Linked DNA regions of Homo sapiens: region 2 is linked to region 1. Evidence: promoter capture Hi-C in 16 types of primary human blood cells and fetal thymus (Javierre and others, 2016). All regions are on one chromosome and are shown on one strand. The core of a region is centred on a gene start or on the middle of the fragment in contact, and the rest is flanking DNA. Distances in the headings are between cores, read along the strand shown.

Region 1 (5,909 bases), core at 2,042-4,541:
CAAGGTTCTCTGGGCTGCATCCAACTGTCCCCACTCCTCCTGGGTGAATGTCACAGCCACATCCTCAAAGGTCACAGACACCTGGAAAATTAAACAGAGATAGTAGTGTTTCCCTTGGAACTGTGGAATACAACTAGAACTTGTCACTTCAGCACTGCAAAAGATGCGCAGTGACCCAAGAATCAAATCACCAAGCATCTCTAGAGGGCCATGATCTGTGCCAGGCATGAGGGGAATGTGGACATTGCCTTGGATAAATTACAGCAGTGTCGGTCAGGCGCGGTGGCTCACGCCTGTAATCCCAGCACTTTGGGGGGCCATGAAGGGCAGATCACGAGGTCAGGAGATCGAGACCATCCTGGCTAACATGGTGAAACCCCGTCTCTGCTAAAAATACAAAAAAATTAGCCGGGCGCGGTGGCGGGCGCCTGTATTCCCAGCTACTCGGGAGGCTGAGGCAGGAGAATGGCGTGAACCCGGGAGGCGGAGCTTGCAGTGAGCCGAGATCGTGCCACTGTACTCCAGCCTGGGTGACAGAGCGAGACTCGTCTCAAAAAAAAAAAAAAAAATTACAGCAGTGAAGAGAGAGAAGCCTCCTATGCAGAAAGCCACTTCACACAGAAATAAGGTTAGGACAATCCTAAGGGGACTGAGAGGCAAGACAGTAAGTGCTCTGAGACATCAGAGGAATGGGAAAGAATAATAACAAAAACAACACCAGCAACAACAACAAGAACAGCACCTGAGTCTTACCGATCCTCCCTGTGAGCCTGCCTCATGCTAATGGCTTTACATGCCATGGTAAAGTGACTAAAAGTCCCCAGCTCAGGAGTCAGACTCCTGAGGTTTAAAACCAAATTCCTGAAATCAACACAAGCCTGCTATGTGACCTTGGAAATCTCATTTCATTTATCTGAGCCCTGATGTCCAGGTCAACACAACAGGGTTTTCCACTTCACCAAGAATAGTCAAAAGATCTGAAGAAAAGCTGTAAAGGAAACACTGGGGCAAAGGGCCACAGCTCCTGAGTTCACCATCATCATCTCCATGTCACACTCAGAGACTTGAGGTCCAGGACCTCCACTAGTCTACCCAAAGTCACATCTCTTATCAGGAGAGACAGAATTTGAACCCAGGGCCCTATGGTCTATGTTCTAATCATGCAACCCGACACTCCTTCATTAGCAAAGTTAATGCACAGTTAATGAGGATGGGAAACATTGAAATACATCCATTTGAGCCACCCTGAAAATATTTTCAGGATTTTTTTTTTTTTTTTTGAGACAGGGTCTCAATATTTTGCCCAGGTTGGGCTTGAACTCATGATCCTCCTGCCTTAGCCTCCCAAGCTGGATATACAGACACATGCCACTGTGCTGGGGTTAGCCACTTGAAATATTTTCATGGACCTGGGCAGAGCAGCATAGTCATAATCACCTACCTCACAGAAGAGTCACCTGAGGTGGTGGCACCTGCCTCAAAAGTGGCAGGGCCTGGACCTGCATCTGCTGCCTCGGACACTTCTGGGCCTCACAGATGCCCATTCTCATAGGAAGAATCCACAACGAGCTATCACTACCTTTTCCTGTTTGAGTCCTACCAACAAGTATCCCTGAGGTCAGGATACTTCAGGAGCAAGGAACAAGAGTCACAGAGGACACAGCAGGTTGTAGCCATGAGAACATGGGCCCCTGACTGGCTATGTCTGTCCTGGCTAAGGAGGAAGGCACATCTAGCAAAAGACCACAAAATCTTGTGTCCCAAGACATGTGTCAGCTGGTATAGGAGAAAACCACTCAGGAAACCACTGTGGAAGCCACACGGGTCCCCTGCGGACTCCTTAAACAACCAATAAACCATTTTTTTTTAGTCCACACAGTTCCACCAGCATGAAATGCCATGACTCCTCATGTCCAAGACCACCTGCTAGAAGGAAGCCTGCTCAACTTGCAAAGTTTACTTTAGGTGTCACCCCCAGGCCTCCCTAACCATTGCGGGCAAAGAAGAGGGTAAAAACACAGGCTGTGATGGTAGACACACCAGTTGTTAGTTTCTGATACTTAAGAGCTACAGTGATGTAAGGCAGGTAATTGAACCTATGTGAGCCTCCAGCTGCTCTTGTGTAAAACAGTGAGGACAAGAGAACCTAATTCTAAGGAGTTCAGGATTAAAGGAGCTGAGGGTTAAATAATGCCTGCCAATCAGCCCACAGCAAGGACTCTTTATGATCAGCTGTCACTCTTTGCAATTATTTCGTTTCTCTTTGTTCACATAACATCCTAGACCAACTCAAACGGCAAGCTTCTTTAATATCGTCAGATTCTCTATACAAAAATGCCACACATTGCCAAAAATGGGCAAGTGCGTAAGGCGCCACTTTAGCCGGAATTGCCAAGAAAGCCACCTCCAAATAGGTGACATCTGGACAGAGGCCAGAAAGATATGAGAGGGAGGCCCTGCGAAGTTATAGGGGCAGTGTTCAAGGCAAAGGGAAGTGCAAAGAGAAAGCCTGGAAAAAGGAAGAAGACTGCACGGTCAGGTTGGTGGCTCTGAAGAGCAAAGGACAAGGGAAAAATGGAGAGACAAGGTCAGGGGTGGTTGGCCAGGTGGATGGGGTAGGGGCTGGCAGGCAACAGAGGAGGTTGGATTTAAGGGAAGTGTGATGAGATCCATGAAGGAAGCATCATTCATCCTTCTACCAAGGACTGAGCACCTGTCGGAGGCCAACACTATTGCAGGACTGCGGATAAAGGAAATGACAAGCTACGGCCACTTCTCTTAAATAAACGACGGCGACAAAGAAACATCCTGTGGCTGTCTTGGCTTCTGCCTGCCCACGAGGCCTCCAGAAGTAGCAGAGCAGCAGCAAGGCCAAAACCTCGTCCACTCACCTGCGCCGAGGCTGCCATCCTGAGACCCTGCAGCCCTAGCGGGGCCCGGGAATGCCGCGGCTCAGCCGACCCCCAGCCCTTCTCTGTCCTGGGCGGGGCGACCTCGGCTGACTTTCGCACTCGGAGCCTCAGTTTCCCCAGAGAAAAATGCGCACAAAGCGGGCGCAGCGTCGGGGCTGAGGAGACGGAGGGCGGCTGCGGAGGCCTAGGCCTCGGCAGGCGCCGGTGGAACACCCCGTTAGGGAAGAAGCGGGGCGTCAGGCTCCCGCCAAGATGCGGAGAAGGCGCGTAACAGCCTCATTACCCTCCCCTGCTCAGGCCGCTGGACGCGCCTACCCAGCGGTCCAGGCCCCACACTGTTCCAGGGCCAATCCTGCTCACGGAGATGACGTCACGCGACGAAGCGGAAGTCCCACCTCCGCCGCCCTGGCCCGCAGAAATCGCCCGTGTCCTGGCCCGTCATTGGCCTAGAGTCCGCGGCCGACGCAAGGGGTGGTGCCTTCTGAGTAAGGCAGTTTTTCCCTCACATCTACCGGGTGTGGGAACTCACCAAGCGCAGCCGACTCCATTTAAGTGCGCACAAGGACCCCCGCGTCGTCTTAGGGCCGCCGCTTTACTATGGGCACAAGTCGGAGGGTCGAAAGGTCCTTTCTAGCTTAGGAAAATTGAGGTCAGGAGGCGGGGATATTCGCCCCGATTGAGATCATGGGCTGGGCCCAGAGCTTCTGGCTCACTTCCCTTATTTTAGGGAGGTAGCTCATATATGTAATCTCAGTGCTTTGGGATGCCAACACAAAATAATTGCTGAGGTCAGGAGTTTGAGACCACCCTGGGCAATATAGTAAGATGTTATATCTACCAAAAAAAAAAAAAAGAGCAAGGCATGATGGTGTACACCTGTAGTCCTAGACACTGGGAGGCTGAAGCAAGAGGATTGCTTGAGCCCAGGAATTTGAGGTTATAATGAGATATGATGAGAGAAAACACACACACATAAACACACTGAGATGCCATCTTATACTGGTCAGAGTGGCTATTATTAAAAAGTAAAAAACCAACAGATGTTGGTATGGATGCAAGGAAAAGGGAACGCTTATATGCTATTGGTGGGAATGTAAATTAGTACAACCTCTATGGAAAACAGTATGGAGATTTATCAAAGAACTGAAAATAGAACTGCCATTTGATCTGGCAATTCCACTATTGGGTATTTACTTAAAGGAAAATAAACCACTATATCAAAAAGATGCCTGTACTTACATGCTTACTGTAGCACTATTCACAGTAGCAAAGTCATAGAATCAACCTAAGTGTCCATCGACAGATGATTGGATAAAGAAAATGCGATATATATATGTATATATATGTATGTATATGTATATATGTATATATATGTATGTATATGTATATATGTATGTATATGTATATATATGTATATATGTATGTATATGTATATATATGTATATATGTATGTATATGTATATATATGTGTATATATGTATGTATATGTATATATATGTATATATATGTATGTATATGTATATATATGTATGTATATGTATATATATGTATATATATGTATGTATATGTATATATATGTATATATATGTATGTATATGTATATATGTATATATGTATGTATATGTATATATATGTATATATATGTATGTATATGTATATATGTGTATATATATATACACTCCATGGAATACTACTCAGTCATTAAAAAAAATCATGGCTTTTGCAGCAATATGGCTGGAACTGGGGGGCCATTCTCTTAAGTGAAATAATTCAGAAACAAAGTCAAATACTGCATGTTATCACTTATAAGTGGTAGCTAAATGATGTATACATATGGAAATAGTGGAATAATAGACACTGGAGATTCAAAAAGGTGGGAGGCATTGCCGGGGACCCCTCACACCATGGTGCTTCACTCACCTACACCACAGCCATGCCACCCCATTGGCACACACTTGCAGGTAGCCCCCCTCTACTGCCCAAGTGGTGCACACTTGCCTGTGGCCTCCCCATCCCCCAGCCACAGTGCACTCTCTGCAGTCCCCACAATGCTCTGCTGGAGCACTTTTGCCAGCAGACTGAGAACACCTCAGCCCCTCTAGCACAGCAGGTGCTTCACCCCAAGCAGCCAGAGAACAAAGCCAAGGGCTTAATCCCCTCTACCCAGGTTTACAGCATGCAGCTCAGGAGTGCTCAGCTGAGCCTTGGCCTGTGAAAGCACCCATAATTGAAACCATGAAACTAAACCCAACTTATACCACAGTAAAACTCCCAAGGGCATCAAATAATATAAAAGCAGAAAGCCCCATCCAAAGGAGAGCAACTTCAAAGATTCAAGGAACATCAGCCCACACATATGAGAAAGAACCAGTGCAAGATTTCTGGCAACTCTAAAGGTCTCCAAACGACTGCACTAGCTCCCTAGTGATGGTTTGGAACCATGCTTAAATGGCTGAAATGACTTAGAATTCAGAGTCTGGATGGCAAGGAAGGAAAAATCCAAGGAAACCAATAATGCAATCCAAGAGTTTAAATATAATATTACCATATTAACAAAGAACCAAAATGGGCTGGGCACGGTGGCTCACGTCTGTAATCCCAGCACTTTGGGAGGCTGATGCGGGTGGATCACTTGAGGTCAGGAGTTCGAAACCAGCCTGACCAACATGGTGAAACCCTATCTCTACTATAAATACAGAAATTAGCTGGGTGTGCTGGCAGGCACCTGTAATCCCAGCTACTCGGGAGGCTGAGGCACAAGAGTCCCTTGGATCCAGGAGATGGAGGTTGCAGTGAGCCAAGATCATGCCATTGCACTCCAGCCTGTGCAACAGAGCAAGACTCCGTCTCAAAAAAAAAAAAAAAAAAAAAAAAAGAAAGAAAAAAAAGAAAGAAAAGAAAAAGAGTCATCAAACTGAACTTCTGGAAATAAGAAATTAACTACAGCAATTGCAATTTCATAATGTAACTGGAAGCGCTAACAACAGAATAGACCAA
Region 2 (5,909 bases), core at 1,470-3,969, 1.1 Mb before region 1:
GTTGAGCCTCCCGTAGGTGTTCCTGGCCAGGGTCATGTCCTTTCCACTGGGAACCCAGGGCTCCTCGCCACGCTCAAGTTGAATGACCACACGAGGTCGGGAGGTAGAGAGTCCTGTGAGGAGGAGCAGGTGAGAGCCCAGCCCCAGGTCAAGACAACCCACCTCCCAACAGAGAGCAGGAGTCAGGGCTTCATGGAAATAGACAGTAATCTGTGCAACTGGGAGAATCTAAAGATAGCACAGGGCAAGGGGCTCATAGGAATAGCTCATGTGTCCCCAGAGCAGCAACTGTGCCCAGAGCACCAAAGCAACGGGACTGAGCCCAGGCATGAGAGAGGCCACAGCTGGACAGGGCGGCAAGGAGTGGCTGACCCAACCAAACTTTGTGTCTACAGGACCAGACCCTTGTTCCACGTGGCCCTGGCCAGATTTGATCCTGCTCATCAACCAGGAGGGAAGTGAAGAGGCAGTCCTGATTGTCACCAAGTGCACTTTTCATGGAGCACCCAGGGCCTTACCAAGTGAGGTCACAAGTGTGAAGTTTTCCAGCATCACGTGGCGGTACAGGGCCCTCTGCGCTGTGTCCAGGAGCCCCCACTCCTCCTGGGAGAAGTACACGGCCACATCCTCGAAGGTCATCAGGTCCTAAAACAGCAGGGAGGTGGAGGTAGGCATGGTCTAAGGTATGGCTGTGAGCCAGGACCAAGCTCCCCATCCCAACAGTCACCTCCCCCAGTGTCCCTCCTTCCTTGGGTTCCACCCCGAGATTATCTTCAGGTGGCACTTCCCTCACCTGTCTGGGACCCCTCCCCTCTGCCCTCCTGGTCCAGGCCCCAGATGGCTTCTTGACTTCCCCACTGGCCACCCCTACACAAGCAGGCTAGAGCAAGCCCTGGCTGGGCCCTTAGCTGCCACACCAAGGGCAGCCCCAAATATCCACTCGTGACTCAGCATGACCATTCATGACCCTCCCCAGATGTGCCCTTCTTGCTTTTGTAATAAGCAAGGGTGTAAGTCCCAGCTGTGGACCCCCCAGGCATGCCCATCACTGAGACCTTCCCCTGCTGCGCTTGCCTGACATTTCCAGGCTGCTCATCCAGCCTGAGGGACTGGATGATCCCCACCAGTCGTCATAGGGGTGCAGCCCCAAGAACCTGTGAACACAGGGGAACTCAATCCCTTCCTCCCTCCACATGGCGCCCCCTCCTCAATTTATTTATTTATTTATTTATTTATTTATTTATTTATTTATTTATTTTTATTTTGGAGACGGAGTCTCACTCCGTCACCCAGGCTGGAGTGCAGTGGGGCAATCTCGGCTCACTGCAAGCTCCGGCTCCCGGGTTCACGCCATTCTCCTGCCTCAGCCTCCCGCCACCACACCTGGCTAATTTTTTTGGATTTTTAGTAGAGACCGGGTTTCACTGTGTGAGCCAGGATGGTCTCGATCTCAGCGCTCCCGCAATTTCTTTCCCACATTGCTGCCACCCTCTCCTATTCAGCCACCTGCCGAACTCCTCCCCTGATAGCCTCAGGCACCCCAGCCGGTTTTCTTTACCCTCAAGCTGTAACTCCGCACGCCTGACTGCTCATCGCCTTCTTCAGTCCAGTTTATAGGCCCTGTCCTCAGCCCAGGACACCAACAACGTCAGGTCCAGTGACATGACCAACCTGGGACATCCCAGACTCTTGATCTTTCCCCTGAAGGAAACCTGCTTTCCTTTCAATTCTCCTTTCTATCTACAGCAGCTCTCTTCTTCCAGGCGCTCAGGCTGAACAACATGGGGTACTTAGTTCTTCAAACAGCCCACACCTGATGCATCCGCAGATCCACCAGAATTCACCTGGTCGCCCACCTCCACTGCTGCCCAGACTGTGGCAGTCGGTTCTTCCCTTCATGCCGACACCCCTGCATGTCTGTTCTCCACGCAACAAACGGTGGAACCGTTTTAAAGTCCCAACTCAGAGGATGTCCTGATTCTGTTCAAAACTTCTATGTCTCCCGACGCCCTCGAGATAAAGCCCACTCCCTCGCCTGCTACTGCAGCCGCACACATCCCCTCTACTCCAGCTCCACATCGAGAGCGCTCAGTCCCAGAAGCATCTGGGCTTCGGCTCCCCTCCCAGGTTTTGCACACGCAGGACTCTCCCCTCGGAGCCTCCTTCGGGACCTCAGCCCCCTGGCTGCCGGAAGTCGGGAGCTCACCAGTGCCCTGGACGCAGGAGTTTGCACTGACCCCCGCAACCCCCCCAGGGCAGGGAGAGGAAAGACGACTAGGCGAGGTCTAGGAAGCGGCCTCACTCCGTGGGGGCGCAGTCTGTGTGAGCAGGGACTCCCCCGCCCCCCCGGCGCGGGCTTGTCAGCGCCACCGCCGCCAGCGGAACCCGCAACTGGGAGGGAAGAAAGGCATGGACCACCCGGGACCGCCATCCCCGCCAGCAGCCTCCCGCGGCTGCCCCGCGCCTCAGCCTGCCCGGCAGTCATGGGCGCAGAATGCCCAATGCGCTGCCTCCTGGGCTTCCGCGGGGCGGGAGAACGCGTGGTTCCCGCCGGGGCCCGACCGCCCCCGGGCCGACCACGTCATACTCGAAGATACCGAGGCTTGGGGGCGCGGCCGGCTGCTCGTGGTCCGTACCTTCCTGGCCGCCCGCCTCGGGCCCCGACCCGCGCGCCACAGCCCAGACCACCGGTGTGGCCTGACGCGAGCAGCCAAGTGACAGTCCCAACGCCGGAAGTCCAGCCCCCAGAGCTCACATTGCCCCAATACGCGCGCAGACGCTTGCGCACAGCCTTCTGGGTTATGTGGTTCCTGCCTGTTTTTCGGCGCGGAGGCGGGGCCATTACCAGTCTCCATGGCAACGGCTAAGCGCCGCCGCGCTGGGCGCCTGGAAATGGAGTAGCGCAGCTGCCGCGGGTTTCCAAGGGCTCCGTGGCACTGGTTGAGTCGCCCGGCAGGTTGTCCCGCGTTGGGGATTCCCAGTTCCTGGCACCCACCTAAGCAGCCCTGGAGACTAAACCCTGCAGGTGTGAAAGCAGAAACTGCGGAGGTTCCAGAAGGCAACACCAGCAGGTAGCAGGGAGGAGAAAACGCACCGGGTAGGGCAGGTGTAGGTGGAGGAGCAGATGCCTGGAGCTCCGGGTTCCCTTCCCAGCTTTGCATCTCACTGACTGTGCATCCTGGGCGAGGGTTTGATCTCTCTGTGTGTCAGTGTCCCGTAAAGGTTTAAGGTCCGTTTTTCAACCTCTACACCAAGAATTCTCAGCCTGTAATGACACTACCCGCTTGTCATTTGTCTTGATTCTGTGATTGTTCTTGGACGCTCGCCCAAAACTTGTTTTCCTTGTAACTTGGACGAGCAGAAGGTAATTCCCCAGCCTTGCTTGTCCTTAGACCATCTAGTTCTTGCTTTGCCCCACACATCACAACATGGATGCTTTGTTCCTTTTTTCTCTGGACCAATCTAAGTGTCTTTGACACATAACAACAAAAGGCAGGGCAGTCTCAATGTAGACTGACCATGTTGTTGGCAGAGAATAAACGATTCTCTCTTTGTTGCTTCCCTGTGAGGGTCTTGTTTTTAGGATCCTTAGACAGTTCTCAGATGTCAAGTACGTTAATTCATTTTGTCTTCCTCTATACCCACCTCCATCTATAAATATCTGTCTACTGTCAGCTATAACTGTCCACAGAATTGATTCTACTTGTAGATCCCTATAGTGTAAGATAGCTCGACAATTTTTGAATGTTTTTATTTAAATTTTTCCTGCTTTGAAAGAATTTAAGAACACTTAAGTACTATTGTGATTTAATCAAATGCTTAGAGGCATTATTAACATTTCAAGCAATTTTTTTTTACTTTTTTTTTTTTTTTTTTGAGACAGGGTCTCACTCTCTTACCCAGGATGGAGTGCAGTGGTGCATACTCGGGTCACTGCAACCTCCGCCTCCCATGCTCAAACAGTCCTCCAACTTCAGCCTCCCAAGTAGCTGGAACTACAGGCAGGAGCCACGATGCCTGGTGTATTAGTCTGTTTTCACGTTGCTGATAAAGACATATCTGAGACTGGGTAATTTATAAAGAAAAAGAGGTTTAGTGGACTCATAGTTCCACGTGGCTGGAGAGGCCTCACAATCATGACAGAAGGTGAAAGGCACGTCTTACATGGCAGCAGGCAAGAGCAAATGAGAGTCAAGCAAAAGAGGAAACCCCTTATGAAACCATCAGATCTCGTGAGACTTACTCACTACCACAAGAATAGTATGGGGGAAACTGTCCCCATGACTCAGTTACCTCTAACTGGGGCCCCTTCCACAACATGTGGGAATTATGAAAGCTACAATTCAAAATGAGATTTGGTTGGGGACACAGCCAAACCATATCATTCTGTTCCTCGCCCCTCCCAAATCTCGTGCTCACATTTCAGAACCAATCGTGCCTTCCCAACAGTCCCCCAAAGTCTACTTATTTCAGCATTAGCTCAAAAGTCCACAGTCCAAAATCTCATCTGAGACAAGGCAATTCCCTTCTTCCTATGAGCCTGTAAAATCAAAAGCAAGTTAGTCACTTCCTAGATACAATTGGGGTACAGCCGTTGGATAAATACACCCATTCCAAATGGGAGAAATTGGCCAAAAGAAAGGGGCTAAAGGCCCCACGAAAGTCTGAAATGCAGCAGGACAGTCGAATCTTAAAGTTCCAAAATAATCTCCTCTGACTCCATGTCTCACATCCAGGTCACACTGATACAAGCAGTGGGTTCCCATGGTCTTGGGCAGCTGCAGCTCTGTGGCTTTGCAGGGTACAGCCTCCCTCCCAGCTGCTTTCATGGGCTGGTGTTGAGTGTCTGTGACTTTTCCGGGTGCGTGGTCCAAGCTGTTGGTTGTATCTACCATTCTGGAGTCTGGAGGATGGTGGCCCCCTTCTCACAGCTCCACTAGGCAGTACCCCAGTGGGGACTCAGTGTGGGGTCTTCAACCCCACATTTCCCTTCAGCACTGCCCTACCAGAGGTTCTCCATGAGGGCCCTGCCCCTGCAGCAAACTTTTGCCTGCTCCAAATCTGGGCATTTCCATACATCTTCTGAAATCTAGGTGGAGGTTCCCAAACCTCAGTTCTTGAGTTCTGTGCACCCACAGGCTCAACACCACATGGGAGCTGCCAAGGCTTGAGGCTTGCACCCTCTGAAGCCACAGCCTAAGCTGTACCTTGGCTCCTTTTAGCCATAGTTCAAGCAGCTGGGATGCAGGGCACCAAGTCTGTAGGCTGCACACAGCAGGGGGAGCCCACGAAACCATTTTTTCCTCCTAGGCCTCTGGGCCTGTGATGGGAAGGGCTGCCACAAAGGTCTCTGACATGTCCTGGAGATATTTTCCCCATTGTCCGGGCGATTAACATTTGACTCCTGGTTACTTATGCAAATTTCTTGAATTTCTCCACAGAAAATGTGTTTTTCTTTTCTGTTGCATGGTCAGGCTGCAAATTTTCTGAACTTTTATGCTGTATTTCCCTTTTAAAACTGAATGCTTTTAATAATATCAAAGTCACCTCTTGAATGCTTTGCTGCTTAGAAATTTCTTCCACCAGATACTTTATTTTTATTTTTATTTTTTTTGAGATGGAGTCTTGCTCTGTCACCCAGGCTGCAGGGCAGTGTTGCAATCTTGGCTCACTGCAAGCTCCGCCTCCTAGGTTCATGCCAGTCTCCTGCCTCAGCCTCCTGAGTAGCTGGGACTACAGGCACCCGCCATCATGCCAGGCTAATTTCTTTGTATTTTTTTAGTAGAGACGGGGTTTCACCATGTTAGCCAGGATGGTCTTGATCTCCTGACCTCATGATCCACCTGCCTCAGCCTCCCAAAGTGCTGGGATTACAGGCGTGAGCCACTGCACCCGGACCAGATACTTTA

The links. Contacts are between HindIII fragments. The CHiCAGO score rates a contact against its expected background, and 5 or more counts as called.
Region 2: a contact is called between the fragment with the promoter of ZNF324B here and the fragment with the promoter of ZNF543 in region 1, in 1 of 17 cell types (neutrophils). The highest score is 5.9, in neutrophils.

Annotation. Positions count from the first base shown.
Region 1 is chr19:57,317,854-57,323,762 of GRCh38, reverse strand. ZNF543 (zinc finger protein 543) reads right to left here and starts at 3,291. Exons shown (of 4, transcript NM_213598.4): 1 at 2,892-3,291; 2 at 1-81. The coding sequence starts at 2,909. RefSeq lists enhancers at 3,193-3,342, 3,353-3,472, 4,398-4,915. The HindIII fragment of the contact is 3,609 bases long and covers 2,304-5,909 here.
Region 2 is chr19:58,448,432-58,454,340 of GRCh38, reverse strand. ZNF324B (zinc finger protein 324B) reads right to left here and starts at 2,719. Exons shown (of 4, transcript NM_207395.3): 1 at 2,637-2,719; 2 at 519-645; 3 at 1-113. The coding sequence starts at 639. RefSeq lists silencers at 2,280-2,709, 2,687-3,013. The HindIII fragment of the contact is 9,897 bases long and covers 1-5,909 here.